Regions from separate parts of the Homo sapiens genome. Here regions 2 and 3 are each linked to region 1. The links are contacts of gene promoters, found by promoter capture Hi-C in blood cells and fetal thymus (Javierre and others, 2016). All regions are on one chromosome and are shown on one strand. The core of a region is centred on a gene start or on the middle of the fragment in contact, and the rest is flanking DNA. Distances in the headings are between cores, read along the strand shown.

What was found. Contacts are between HindIII fragments. The CHiCAGO score rates a contact against its expected background, and 5 or more counts as called.
Region 2: the fragment with the promoter of HMGN4 here is called in contact with a fragment that was not itself captured in region 1 in 3 of 17 cell types (fetal thymus, monocytes and M1 macrophages); the score reaches 7.6 in fetal thymus.
Region 3: the fragment with the promoter of H4C7 here is called in contact with a fragment that was not itself captured in region 1 in 5 of 17 cell types (monocytes, fetal thymus, activated CD4 T cells and 2 more); the score reaches 9.9 in monocytes.

Annotation. Positions count from the first base shown.
Region 1 is chr6:27,752,210-27,756,172 of GRCh38, forward strand. It overlaps TRV-AAC1-5 (tRNA-Val (anticodon AAC) 1-5), which reads right to left and starts at 1,263; the gene lies at 1,191-1,263. RefSeq lists enhancers at 457-516, 687-776 and a silencer at 1,227-1,366. The HindIII fragment of the contact is 1,415 bases long and covers 1,276-2,690 here.
Region 2 is chr6:26,537,100-26,540,905 of GRCh38, forward strand. It overlaps HMGN4 (high mobility group nucleosomal binding domain 4), which reads left to right and starts at 1,267. Exons shown (of 2, transcript NM_006353.3): 1 at 1,267-1,402. It overlaps TRR-ACG1-2 (tRNA-Arg (anticodon ACG) 1-2), which reads left to right and starts at 399; the gene lies at 399-471. It overlaps TRV-CAC1-6 (tRNA-Val (anticodon CAC) 1-6), which reads left to right and starts at 955; the gene lies at 955-1,027. RefSeq lists enhancers at 1-217, 1,478-1,887 and silencers at 251-544, 938-987. The HindIII fragment of the contact is 7,010 bases long and covers 1-3,590 here.
Region 3 is chr6:26,245,232-26,249,299 of GRCh38, forward strand. H4C7 (H4 clustered histone 7) reads right to left here and starts at 1,765. Exons shown (of 1, transcript NM_003547.3): 1 at 1,380-1,765. The coding sequence starts at 1,746. The coding sequence ends at 1,450. The HindIII fragment of the contact is 5,476 bases long and covers 1-4,068 here.

The DNA of each region.
Region 1 (3,963 bases), core at 733-3,232:
CAGCGGAAGGTGCAGGTCATGTGCCATCTAGAGTACCAAAGAAAAATGTTCATGGGGAAGTCTGTTACCAGAGATGCTCTAAAGGAGGTTCCCCCAAAGTACTGCTGGCCACCATGCACTGCAGGAGGTTCCTACTAGGTAAACTGCTCAGGCTGTGGGAGCCAGGCCACTGTGCACAGTAACGCCAAGAGATTATTTCCTCCAGCAATGTCTCTCCATCGCCCTCTATTGACAAAATTTAATATTGAGCTAAACTGCGACAGAAAATATTTAAAGGGCCCAGCTCCGTTCCATTGTTATGGAGCAAGGAAAAGTGATTTTGCTGCTGAGAGGTAATAAATAGATAACCGGACAGAAGAGAAAATGCTGACTTTCTTTGGACTGGTTCGAATTCAAACACACTTTTATATCCTTGTCCAAGTGCACAATCCATGGTGAAAGTTTAAGAGCTGTCAAAAAGTTTGTTTTGGCCGGGCGCGGAGGCTCACGCCTGTAATCCCAGCACTGTGGGAGGCCGAAGCGGGTGGGTTACCTGAGGTCAGGAGTTCGAGACAAGCCTGGCCAACATGGCGAAACCCCATCTCTACTAAAAATACAAAAATTAGCGGAGCGTGGTGGTAATCCCACCTACTCGGGAGGCTGAGGGAGGAGAATCGCTTGAACCCGGGAGGCGGGGGTTGCAGTGAGCCGAGATCGTGCCACTGCACTCCAGCCTGGCAACAACAGCGAAACTCTGTCTCAAAAAAAAAAAAAAAAAAAAGTGTTTCCTCTCTGTGCTTCAGCAAAAAAAGAGCAAATCCAATTCCCCGAAGGGCTCAAAGCGAAGCGCTCTTCCTTAGAAATCCCCGAGGAAACCCCCTCCACGAAAAACCCGCAAGTGCTGCTCTCTGGATTCCAAGAAAGCCTGTCTCACCTGCGAGGTGCAGGCGGGTGGAGTTCTGGGACTCCGGTGCCTATTGGGATTGACACCACCGGGGTCACTCAGACGGAGATCAGAAAAGGAGGATGAGGGTGAGGGTTCGGCGTGGGGTAGAGAAAGGTGTGACGCGGGATTCAGCGCCACGTCGCTGGGTGACGGAAGGAGTACAGAAGTTGAGGGTTCACGTGCTCGGCAAAAAGCAAAGATTCTATTGGTTCAAATGAAAATACTCAAAAACAGAATTAGCGATAGAAAAAAAAGCGACTCTCTTTGTTTCCGCCCGGTTTCGAACCGGGGACCTTTCGCGTGTTAGGCGAACGTGATAACCACTACACTACGGAAACCAACGGTTACAAAGCTTCTTCTTTTTGACCTAAAAGACTAGTCCTGAATTCTCCCCCTTTCCCTCCACCCCCACCTCCGATTTTTTTTTGATTATGGTGAATTACACACTTTCACATTTACTATTTATAATATAAAAACTCGATGTCCTAATTTAAGTTGAGGAACATTTGATAAATAATCGGTTTGTACTTTTTTGTATAATAAACTATATTTCCCAGTAGTTACTTATACAAAGAGGCATAGAATTAATTTGGGAAAGGTAATTTGTTAAGATTTATGCATCTATGAATCTATGAACTAATTTTTAAACCTATTTCTAGTATTTAGATGTTCTTCCCATTGTTTTATACTTTAAAAAATACTGATTAGTTTTCAAATTTATAGATATAAATGTTTTAATGTTATATAATGTTTATATAACATTATATATAATGTTATATAATGTTTATAAGATATAAACATTTTAATGTTTAGTTGTAACCAACTAGTAGCTTCAATGATAACTCAATTCGAAGGAATTCTATAAAAAGTAGAACATTATGCTTCCCATAACAAAAATAATAAATAACTGGCTAATGACTTCACCTGACTGTAGCGTAGTCTTTGGTGCTCTAATTAGAAGAGAAGCTCTTTTCTTTCTAGAAATACTTGCCGACCTCCTTGTGGAAAACCCTCCCTTTCCGCTGTCTGCATTCGGATGAGAACCAGATCACCAGGGAGATGCAGACCAGGGGGACACTTCCTCCTGTTAACACTAGCGGAGCTGGTGGAACCCAGCCGACCATGCAGGAGGGAGGAGCTGGCAACGCCCTGAACGGTGGGAGGGGAAAGCATGCGGGGTGTCAGCGTCTCTAGGGTTTGGATAAGCCGATTTCAAGTCCAGGACAGGAGAGAAAACAAAAGAGTTCTGTTCAAATAATAATAATAATAAATCTTACTGAGTTTCAAACCAAGGGTCTTTACTGTATTGGGCAAATGTGATAACCACAATACCAGTAAAACTTGCCTTTGGTCCCATGTCTCTTCTACAGGAAAAAAAAAATACAGTTTTTCCAGATGCCCCAGGTTCTATAATCTCAAAGCTGCCCTTTCTTCCCAGAAACTCTCACAGTGGTGGTACGTTTCTTGCCCTTGTACTTTTAGTGTACTAAAACCAACAGCCAAACTTTATCATTTTAGCAATCCAAGTATTCACCCATGAGCCCCAATTTCTTTGCAAATGCCAGGCAAGAAAACCTCAAGTAGATAGAGAAGTAGAGAGCAGATGATTTGATTTTTTTAAAAAAATTCTACCATAGTGTCCTTATCTTATCCATGCAACTTGTTCTGATCTTCATCTTTCTAGTGCCAGAAAATGACCCTTTTAGGAACCCGGACCTGTAAGACTGAGCTCTTGGGACTATTAGCATTTGTTACAGAGCAGGTAAGCTTCAGGATGAGATATACTGGGGAACAGGTACAAGGTTACAAGATTGGATTCTATGTCACAAATAATTATTTCTCTGGAATGTGACAGTTCAATGCTATTTGATTTAGAAAAGGAGGATAAAACGCTCGTGTATTTTTTTCTTTTCTTTGTTCTTCTCTCCCTTTTCACTGTCTTCCTCTATCTACTTTCACTGCACACCTAGAAGCAAGCTGCCTTCTTCCAGATTCCTCCTTATAACTTCACTTTGCATATAAACACCACACACTCTCTGTGCTTAGAGGTGGTGGTTGGGCTGCCAGACCAGTCTGGAGAAAGTCTGTGCTTACTTTTTCCTCTACTTAGTATTCTTTCTTCCATGGGTGCCAGGAACAGAGAGCCCCTTCTCACCTTGAGATCATGTGAGCTGGTAGTAGCTGGATCATGAATAATTGGAATGCTGTGGGTAACAACTGAAAGAAAGACTGTAATTCCCAATTAACAAATTAGACTGTATTTCCCAATTAACAAATCAAGACCAGATTAGCAGCAACAATGATCATTAAAAATATTGTTAAAGAAAAAAAGAAAGAAAAAAGATAAAAAATATTGTTAAACTGGACATAGTGGTGTACCTGTAGTTCTAGTTACTCTGGAGACGAAGTAAATCAGGAAGATCACTTGAGCCCAGGAGTTTGAGGTTGCATGTGCAATGATTGTGTCTGTGAAAAGCCACTGCCCTCCAGCCTGGGCAATATAGGGAGACTCCATCTCTAATTTAAAAAAAATTGTTGTAAACACATTTATTTCATATTAATTAAAATAAATTATTGGCTGGGCACAGTGGCTCATGCCTGTAATTCTAGCACTTTGGGAGGCTTAGGCGGGATGATCACTTGAGCCATGAGTTCGAGACAGCCTGGGCAACATTGCGAGATCCCCATTTCAAATTTTTTTAAAAAGAAAAATAAATTATTGAGCTACAAACAATGTGCCAGACAATTGTGACCCTATGTTGTCACTAGGAGTACCAGAGGCATGCAGGACAAGATTACACAATCCTAACTCTCAAGGAGAAGAAAGAGGAACATGAGCAGCCAATATGCCATAAGCAAAAAGTGGAGCAACAGACGTACAGATTGCGAAGCATTTGGATGGTAGTATAGAGAGGAGGCATCTTCTTAGTCCTTATGAACTGGCAGGGCAGATCTGGCAGGGATCTTTGGAGCCAAAATATCTGAGTACAATTCCTTCCTCTGCCACTTTCTCATCATATGTAGGGTTTCAGGCAAGC
Region 2 (3,806 bases), core at 17-2,516, 1.2 Mb before region 1:
TCTCCAATCGCTTATCACTATTATTTTGTTTATTTAATGCTTTATTATCCGCTTCCGCCACTGCCATGTAATCTTGAGGGCAAGGGTCTCTCATGTTTTCTTCACCGTTATCTGCAGTGCCTTGAACACTAATACTGGTTGAATGAACGAACGCATTAATGGAGCGGTGATATTGGGGCAGAGAGGATGCAGGGCTTGCTTTTCACCGCCATTTTTCAGCCGGCAGAGACAGACCGAGAAAGGAATGAAGGCCACGGGGCGTGTGCAGAAGTAGCTACCAGAGAGTCCATGCGCTGCGAGCCTGGACCAGCGGGCAAACGCGGCTTACAGGCGTTCACCCAGATATTACGGGTACAACCTAGTTTCTTATGAAATACCTCGCCCCTAAGGTACGCGCAGGGCCAGTGGCGCAATGGATAACGCGTCTGACTACGGATCAGAAGATTCCAGGTTCGACTCCTGGCTGGCTCGGTGTAAGCAGGGTCGTTTTACAACTTTCTGACTCCGCAGGAGTAAGGAAATTCCTGCAAGATAAATTTGCCTGGAAGACTCAGAAGCAAGAGGGGCAGCTCCCGACAACATATGGGGTTATCATTTCTTTGCGGAGCATTCTGCCACTGACCACGTGGTAACGCCAACTACGCCAGAGAAACGCTCGCCCTACCCAAGTTGTGCCCAGCCTTGCCTGGCCATTTTGGCCGAAGAACGAAGGACCGTTCAGAGATTAAATTAAAGTCTCTATTGTGTTCTTCCCTATTCAGTCATTTGTAGAATAAATTCTATGGCTTCAGTTTGAACACTGGAGGGGCTGGGTCTGAGCTTTTCATTGGTTTTTCTGGTTTGAGAGGTCGGTACAGAGACGCACGCGCACATCAGCAAAACACGCACTTGGAACGAAGAAACACGGAACTAGGCAGGAAGAACTATTTACTCTGAAAAATAAGCCCTTAGTGGGTTTCCGTAGTGTAGTGGTTATCACGTTCGCCTCACACGCGAAAGGTCCCCGGTTCGAAACCGGGCGGAAACACGTTTTTTTTTCCTCATCTTACTACGAAATTCTTCCAGTGTGTATCTTTTAAAGACTTTTTCAGGCTGTCATAAATTTCCTGTCTTCTTGTCTTGCTAGATCGGGGCAGCAGTGCTTAGGGCGGGCCTCAGAGGCTCACACACGTATCGCCAGGGGGAGAACCAGCTCTCTCCGGCTTGGACTCGGGGCGGCTCCCCGCCTGCAGCCCCGGAAGCGCATCCTCACCTTCCCTCGCCTTCCTGTTCCTGGCGGAGCCGGGCTCCGCTCGTCTTCTCTGTCTTAGGGCTGGTGCTGGCCCTGCCCACGCCTAGGGCTCCGGCGCGTCACGGGCCTCAGCTGGGATTCCCGCGCCCCTCGGACGGCCACGAGACTCGGGTAAGTGCCTCACAGACTTTGTGCGCTACCCCGGAAAATGAGGGGCGTGGTGGGGGGGGTCCCGCCGCCCTCCGTATACTTAGGACCCTCCTGCCAGCTGGCCCCGGTCATGATTAGGGGCCTTGGGCCCCGTCAGCCCCGCCTGTCTTCCCGTCTCCAGAGTAATCGCAGCATCTCTCCTGAGCTCCGAGTGTGAATCCCTGGGAAAAGCTGAATCCAGAGGTGGGGTCACAGAGAGCCGCAGGCCCGACCGGGATGAGAAGTCCTAATCGGCGTTCTAGGGGCGTTCTAAAAGAAGGAAGGAAGGGGATTTGAAAGGATTGCTCCCGCAGGGCTGTGGCCTTAAAGAGGTGGTGACTGGCAGGTTGGACTGACCTGCCGTGGGCTCTCCCTTCCTCCCCAATTTACCTTCGAGAAACCCTCGTTGAGGAGACACCCAAGGGCTGAGTCCTCCTCCACTTTGACCTTTTGCTATTCCATCACAAAGAAAAAATGGATCCCAAAGTTAAGAAATGGACCAGCACTTGTTTAGAATCAGGACTGGTGCCTTGGTGTTTGGCCTCTTACCTCTGCCACATGGCTTGCTTACAAGTTAATCGGATTAATCAAACGCTTTTATGAGAAAGTTTTGTTGTGTCACCTGGCAGCCTCGGGTGTTCCCTAAGAGGGATTTCTTTCTTAGATGTATTACTACTTTTTCTAGGGATTAGCCAAGCCTAGCCTCTCAGATCATATTGCTCCAGGTTCCCTCAAATGACTAATAAGAATGTGATGTGTTTGTTTTTGTTTGTTTGTTTTTGAGACGGAGTCTCACTCTGTTGTCCAGGCTGGGGTGCAATGGTGCGATCTCGCTCACTGCAACCTCCACCTCGATTCTTGTGCCTCAGGCTCCCGAGCAGCTGGGACTACAGGTGTGTAACACTACACCCGGATAATTTTTGTATTTTTAGTTGGAGACGGAGTTTCACCATATTGGCCAGGCTGGTCTCAAACTCCTGACCTCAAGTGATCCGCCCGCCTCGGCCTCCCAAAGTGCTGAGATTACAGGCATGAGCCACCGCGCCCAACCGAATGTGATATTTTTATGACCATGAGAAAAGAAGGGCTGCATTCTTTGGTGGGTCCGCAAAATTAAAAAAAAAAAAAAAAAAAGAAAAGAAAAGAAAGAAAAGGACAATGTTAATGAGCTGTTTTCTTTTTATCATTTTCTTAAACAGGCTGCTTGGGTAGACGTTGACTTGAAAGGTCCATTCTTTTGTCATCTTGCTGGTTCCCTTAACAAGACAACACCTTGGCTAGCAAGATAATATCTTGGTTAGCAAGACAATAAACTTGGGCATGTGCTCAACAGCAACCTGTCTAATACATTTTCATTTAAAATCCCCTCTGTACTACTCAGAAATATAAGCAAGTTATTATGGTGCCCAGAAAGGGGGCAAAGGTTCCAGGGTCCTAGGAGATGACAAGGATTTATCCTCTTCATCTTTCTCCGATCCCAGTTAGCAGGAATACTTTAGCCTGGAAGGTGAGTGTGCCCCTAACCAACCTTTACAGATGGGTGACTGTTTGGGAGCTTATGGCTCACTCCTTCTCTTTAAAGCAGATGCATTCTGGCAAGCTGCAGCAGCAAACCTACCCTTTTAGACACCCTGCGTTTTCTCATCTTTCCTTTCTACCCCTGCATCTCCCAGTCTCTCTCACTTAACCTCCGTGGAAACTCATGCTGCGTCTCTAATACTTTGGAAGATGAAGAACAAACGCCCTGGAGAGTGACTGACACCATGTGACCTCTTGCTTCTGTAGCACACTGCATCTTGCCTGTGAATCTTTTTTTTTTTTTCTTTTTTTTTTGAGACCGGGTCTTGCTCTGTCACCCAGGCTGGAGTGCAGTGGCACAATCTTGGCTCACTGCAACCTCCGCCTCCCAGGCTCAAGTGATTCTCCTGCCTCAGCTTCCCAAGTAGTTGGGACTATAGGCATATGCCACCACACCCAGCTAATTTTTGTATTTTTAGTAGAAATGGGTTTCACCATGTTGGCCAGGCTGGTCTTGAACTCCTGACCTCAAGTGATCCACCTGCCTCCACCTCCCAAAGTGCTGGGATTACAGGCGTGAGCCACCACGCCCAGCATTTGCCTGTGCATTTTTTATTGTATTTTAATTATATCCTTTATTCTCTCCTTCCTAAGCTTGGTGTTCTTAACTTTCTTCCAGATCTTCCCTCCAACCCCCAAACACGATCTCTCCTTAAGTAAGAGGCAGGGAGGGAGAGGGGAACCTTCTGATTTCGGGGTGGGATTGAGGCTAAAACCCAAGTTAGAACTACCTCCCAGAAACCCAGTTCCGTATCCATCGAGTGATCAAAAAGATGCTGCTAAAATGTGCCTTGTGTTTGCTAGGGAT
Region 3 (4,068 bases), core at 515-3,014, 1.5 Mb before region 1:
CATCTTTGGTCATATATGTATTCCCAGTCTCCATGGCATCAAACTACTTATTGCCCCTTGTGTCTTCACACTAGTGGAGACCTACCCTCTCCCAACAGTACCTGAACTGCCCTGTTCCCATGTCCCTCCCCTCTGGCTAACAGCTGATCATGATGAGTGAGAGCAAGAGGAATAAATGTGCCTGCATATGACAAGTGTCATGCGGCTCAGTGTCCTGCTACTTGCATCCTCTCTCTGCAGACAGGTCTTTTACACTTACCTGTTCAGAGACCTCTCCCGTGATGGCACCAGAGTTTGTAACAGTTTATTATGTTAATTTTTCCCAAATTTTTATTATAAAAATATTCAGAATAAAACATAACAAAAGATGGGTTTATCAGTCATCCACTACCTACATTCAATAGAGTGGATTTTACCACCATCCGAAAGTAAATGACAGACTCATGAGAATTTACACCTACACACTTCAGCATCTAACCCCTAACAATAAGGGAAATTCCATGTAATCTCAATATATCAAACCTTTCTTTAAAAACTTACTAAAATGACCTGTTATCCAGTTCACGTTCAAGTTTCCTTGATTATCTCCAAAATGCCCTTTAAAACTTTAGAGACAGAATGCAATTAATACATTTAGTTGCTATGTTACTTTAATCTCCTTCAAACTTAAAGTCCTCCAGTTTTTCTCGGTGGCTTTTTGAACAAAGCAATTGTCCCAAATGTTCCACATTCTGGAAGGTTTTTTCCCCCTCTTGAGATGTTTAATTGGCTCTTTGACCCCTGTACTTTCATAAACAGTAAATTGAGACACGAATTATTGCAGTTACACCTTATCAAGGTGTTTCTATATTTACGATGGATCACAAGCAAAGGCACGAAACAGGTAAACTTCTTTTAGTGCTGCTAAATTAGATCATTGAACTAGCAAGGGGGCCAGTCCCTCCACTGCAGACACATTTGTCAGAACGGCACCTGGCAAGTTTGTGCTAATTATTGTGTATTCTCTGGTTATTGAAATTGCTTATTAAGCAGAATATAAAAGTCGGGTTATCTTGGCACTAAAACTACAATTTTAATTACGGAGGGTAATCCTAACAGTAAGGAGAAAAACACACTACCATAACCACATTTTGAGAGCTTTTAAGTGACAATGTAGCCGTTGATGTCCTCAGCCAGCCCACCAGATTTCTAATCTCTGAACACACGATTAACTTACCACCTGTATTCCATGTTGTATGTCAGCCTTGGCGTAAATTTATACTTTACAGCATTATACACCTAACAGCTTTTGGGCACCTACAGCAATAAAACACACAATATTGCTGAGTGCGTTAGTTAAGTTTCCACAATGTCAAACGTGAGCCCTTCGGAAGAAAACGTACGCGGCCCTGAAAAGGGCCATTAACGATATTGCAAGGAAAGGCCTGGCCTCACTTAACCGCCAAAGCCTTACAGGGTTCTTCCCTGGCGTTTGAGCACGTAGACCACGGCCATGGCGGTGACCGTCTTGCGCTTGGCGTGCTCCGTGTTGGTCACGGCGTACCAGATCACATTTTCCAGGAACACCTTGAACACCCGGCGGGTCTCCTCATAAATGAGGCCCAAGATGCGCTTGACACCGCCATGCCGGGCCAAGCGCCGGATAGTGCACTTGGTAATGCCCTGAATATTATCGCTCAGTACCTTGCGATGGCACTTGGCACCGCCTTTCCCAAGGCCTTTTCCGGCCTTGCCCCGAACAGACATGATAAACAAGTCAGAACTATCTCTAAACAAAACGATTACTCGCTTTCCGCAGCCTTTTATATAACGGTAGAGTAGACCTTTTTGAAAACTGAAAGACCAGGAAAGGCGGGAAAACGTATTCAGTCCCCGCTCATCTACTTCTAGTAATAACAAGACATAAGAAATTCTCTTGTAGTAGGGAGATTTGCTGGCATTTAGAGAATAAGGATCTCTAAACGAAAGTGTCAAACATGTACCTAGAGGAAAGTATCTCGATTTTTGATGTCTGTATGTGTTTAAAGATTTACTCCTGGCCGGGCGCGGTGGCTCACGCCTGTAATCCCAGCACTTTTGGAGGCCGAGGCGGGCGGATCACGAGCTCAGGAGATCGAGACCATCCTGGCTAACACGGTGAAACCCTGTCTCTAATAAAAATACAAAAAATTAGCAGGGCGAGGTGGCGGGCGCCTGTAGTCCCAGCTATGCAGGAGGCTGAGGCAGAAGAATGGCATGAACCCCGTGGGGTGGAGCCTGCAGTGAGCCGAGATCACGTCACTGCACTCTAGCCTGGGCAAGGGCGAAGCCCGTCTCAAAAAAGAAAAAAAAAAGATTTACTCCTTCCCTGTATATTAGAGCATTTACCATGCTGAAGTTGAAACAAGCCCAAATTCCAAGACATAAAAGAATTCCTAATCATATTGCCAAGCCGCCCAGCTAAAGAGAAGTAGCCTGGTTTTTGGTTTCGAATCTGTGAGTGACTGCTCTCTCACCGATATTAGACATGTTAATCTGAGTTTCAATGGCCCTATCTGTAAAAAGGGTAAATACTTGTTAATAATTGAGTTACTTTAAGCAAAACACTGGCATATAGTTAGTAAATGATTTTTTTTTAAAATACGGAGTTTCGCTCTTGTTGCCCAGGCTGGAGTGCAATGGCGCAATCTCTGCCCACTGCAACCTCCACCTTCTGGGTTCAAGCTATTCTCCTACCTCGGCCTCCCAAGTAGCTGGAATTACAGGTATGTGCCACCACTCCCGGCTCATTTTTGTATTTTAGTAGAGACCAGATTTCACGTTGGCCAGGCTGGTCTCCAACTCCTGCCCTCAGGTGATCCGCCCGCCTTGGCCTCCCAAAGTGCTGGGATTACAGGCGTGAGCCACCTCACCGGCCAGTTGGTAAACGAATTCTTATTGCCACAGCCTTTTTTTACAGACAAAATAATAATGCAGAGGTAAAGCACACCGAAGGATTTTAAAACATTGCCTTTGCAACACCAATACATTCAGTGTGCTTTCACTTATATTAAGCACTATACAATTAAGCAATGAAGAATTGCCCAGAAAAAAGATAATGTAAATTGCCAGAGGCTCCATGCCCTGTTCTCATGTGGAGGACAGAAGGTACAGGGGGTGACTGTCTTCTGGGGTTGATACAACAGGAAACTCAGGGAAAGCTGTCATAAATGTTAATAGGAGAAAAGGGGAATTTGCTCACAAGCCAAAATAAAGACATAAGCACCACTAAATTTTTACATTACAAAATACTTGCTGAGCTAGTTAAACGAGAGCATTTAAGTGGAAATAAATGATGTCTCTAAAATAGAATGTTCAAAATAACAATGGATTTTTTATTGTGCAGTTACGATGCACCAAACAAACAGTCCTAAAGATCATGGGTTTTTGAAGCAGGGTCAGCAATATCTAAAAAATCATGTAACTGCATAAATGAATTATGGCCTAATGAGCAGGTCACCACAACAAAAAGCCAAGAGTGCAAACAACTATTTGTGGGGAAAACAAACAAACAAACTTGATAAACCATGGAATTCCAAGCAATAAAAGCAGCAATCCCATCACAGCCTATTTCTACATTATTTTGAAATAATTAGATTTTTTTTTTTTTTTTTTTTTTTTTTTTTTGAGGCGGGGTCTCACTCTGTAGCCCAGGCTGGAGTGCAGTGGCACGATCCCGGCTCACTGCAACCTCCACCTCCCAGGTTCAAGTGATTCTTCTGCCTCAGCCTCCCTAGTCGCTGGGATTACAGTTGCCTGCTACCACGTCCGGCTAATTTTTTGTATTTATAGTAGACAGGGTTTCTCCATGTTGGCCAGGCTGATTAAATTACTAGAATAACAAGAAATTGCGCTGGGCACGGTGGATTACGCCTGTAATCCTAGCACTTTGGGAGGCCAAGGAGTCACATCACCTGAGGTCAGGAGTTCCAGACCAATCATAGCCAACATGGTGAAACCCCCGTCTCTACTAAAGCTACAAAATTAGCCGGGCGTGGTGGCACACGCCTGTGATCCCAGCTACTCGGGAGGCTGAGGCAGGAGAATCGC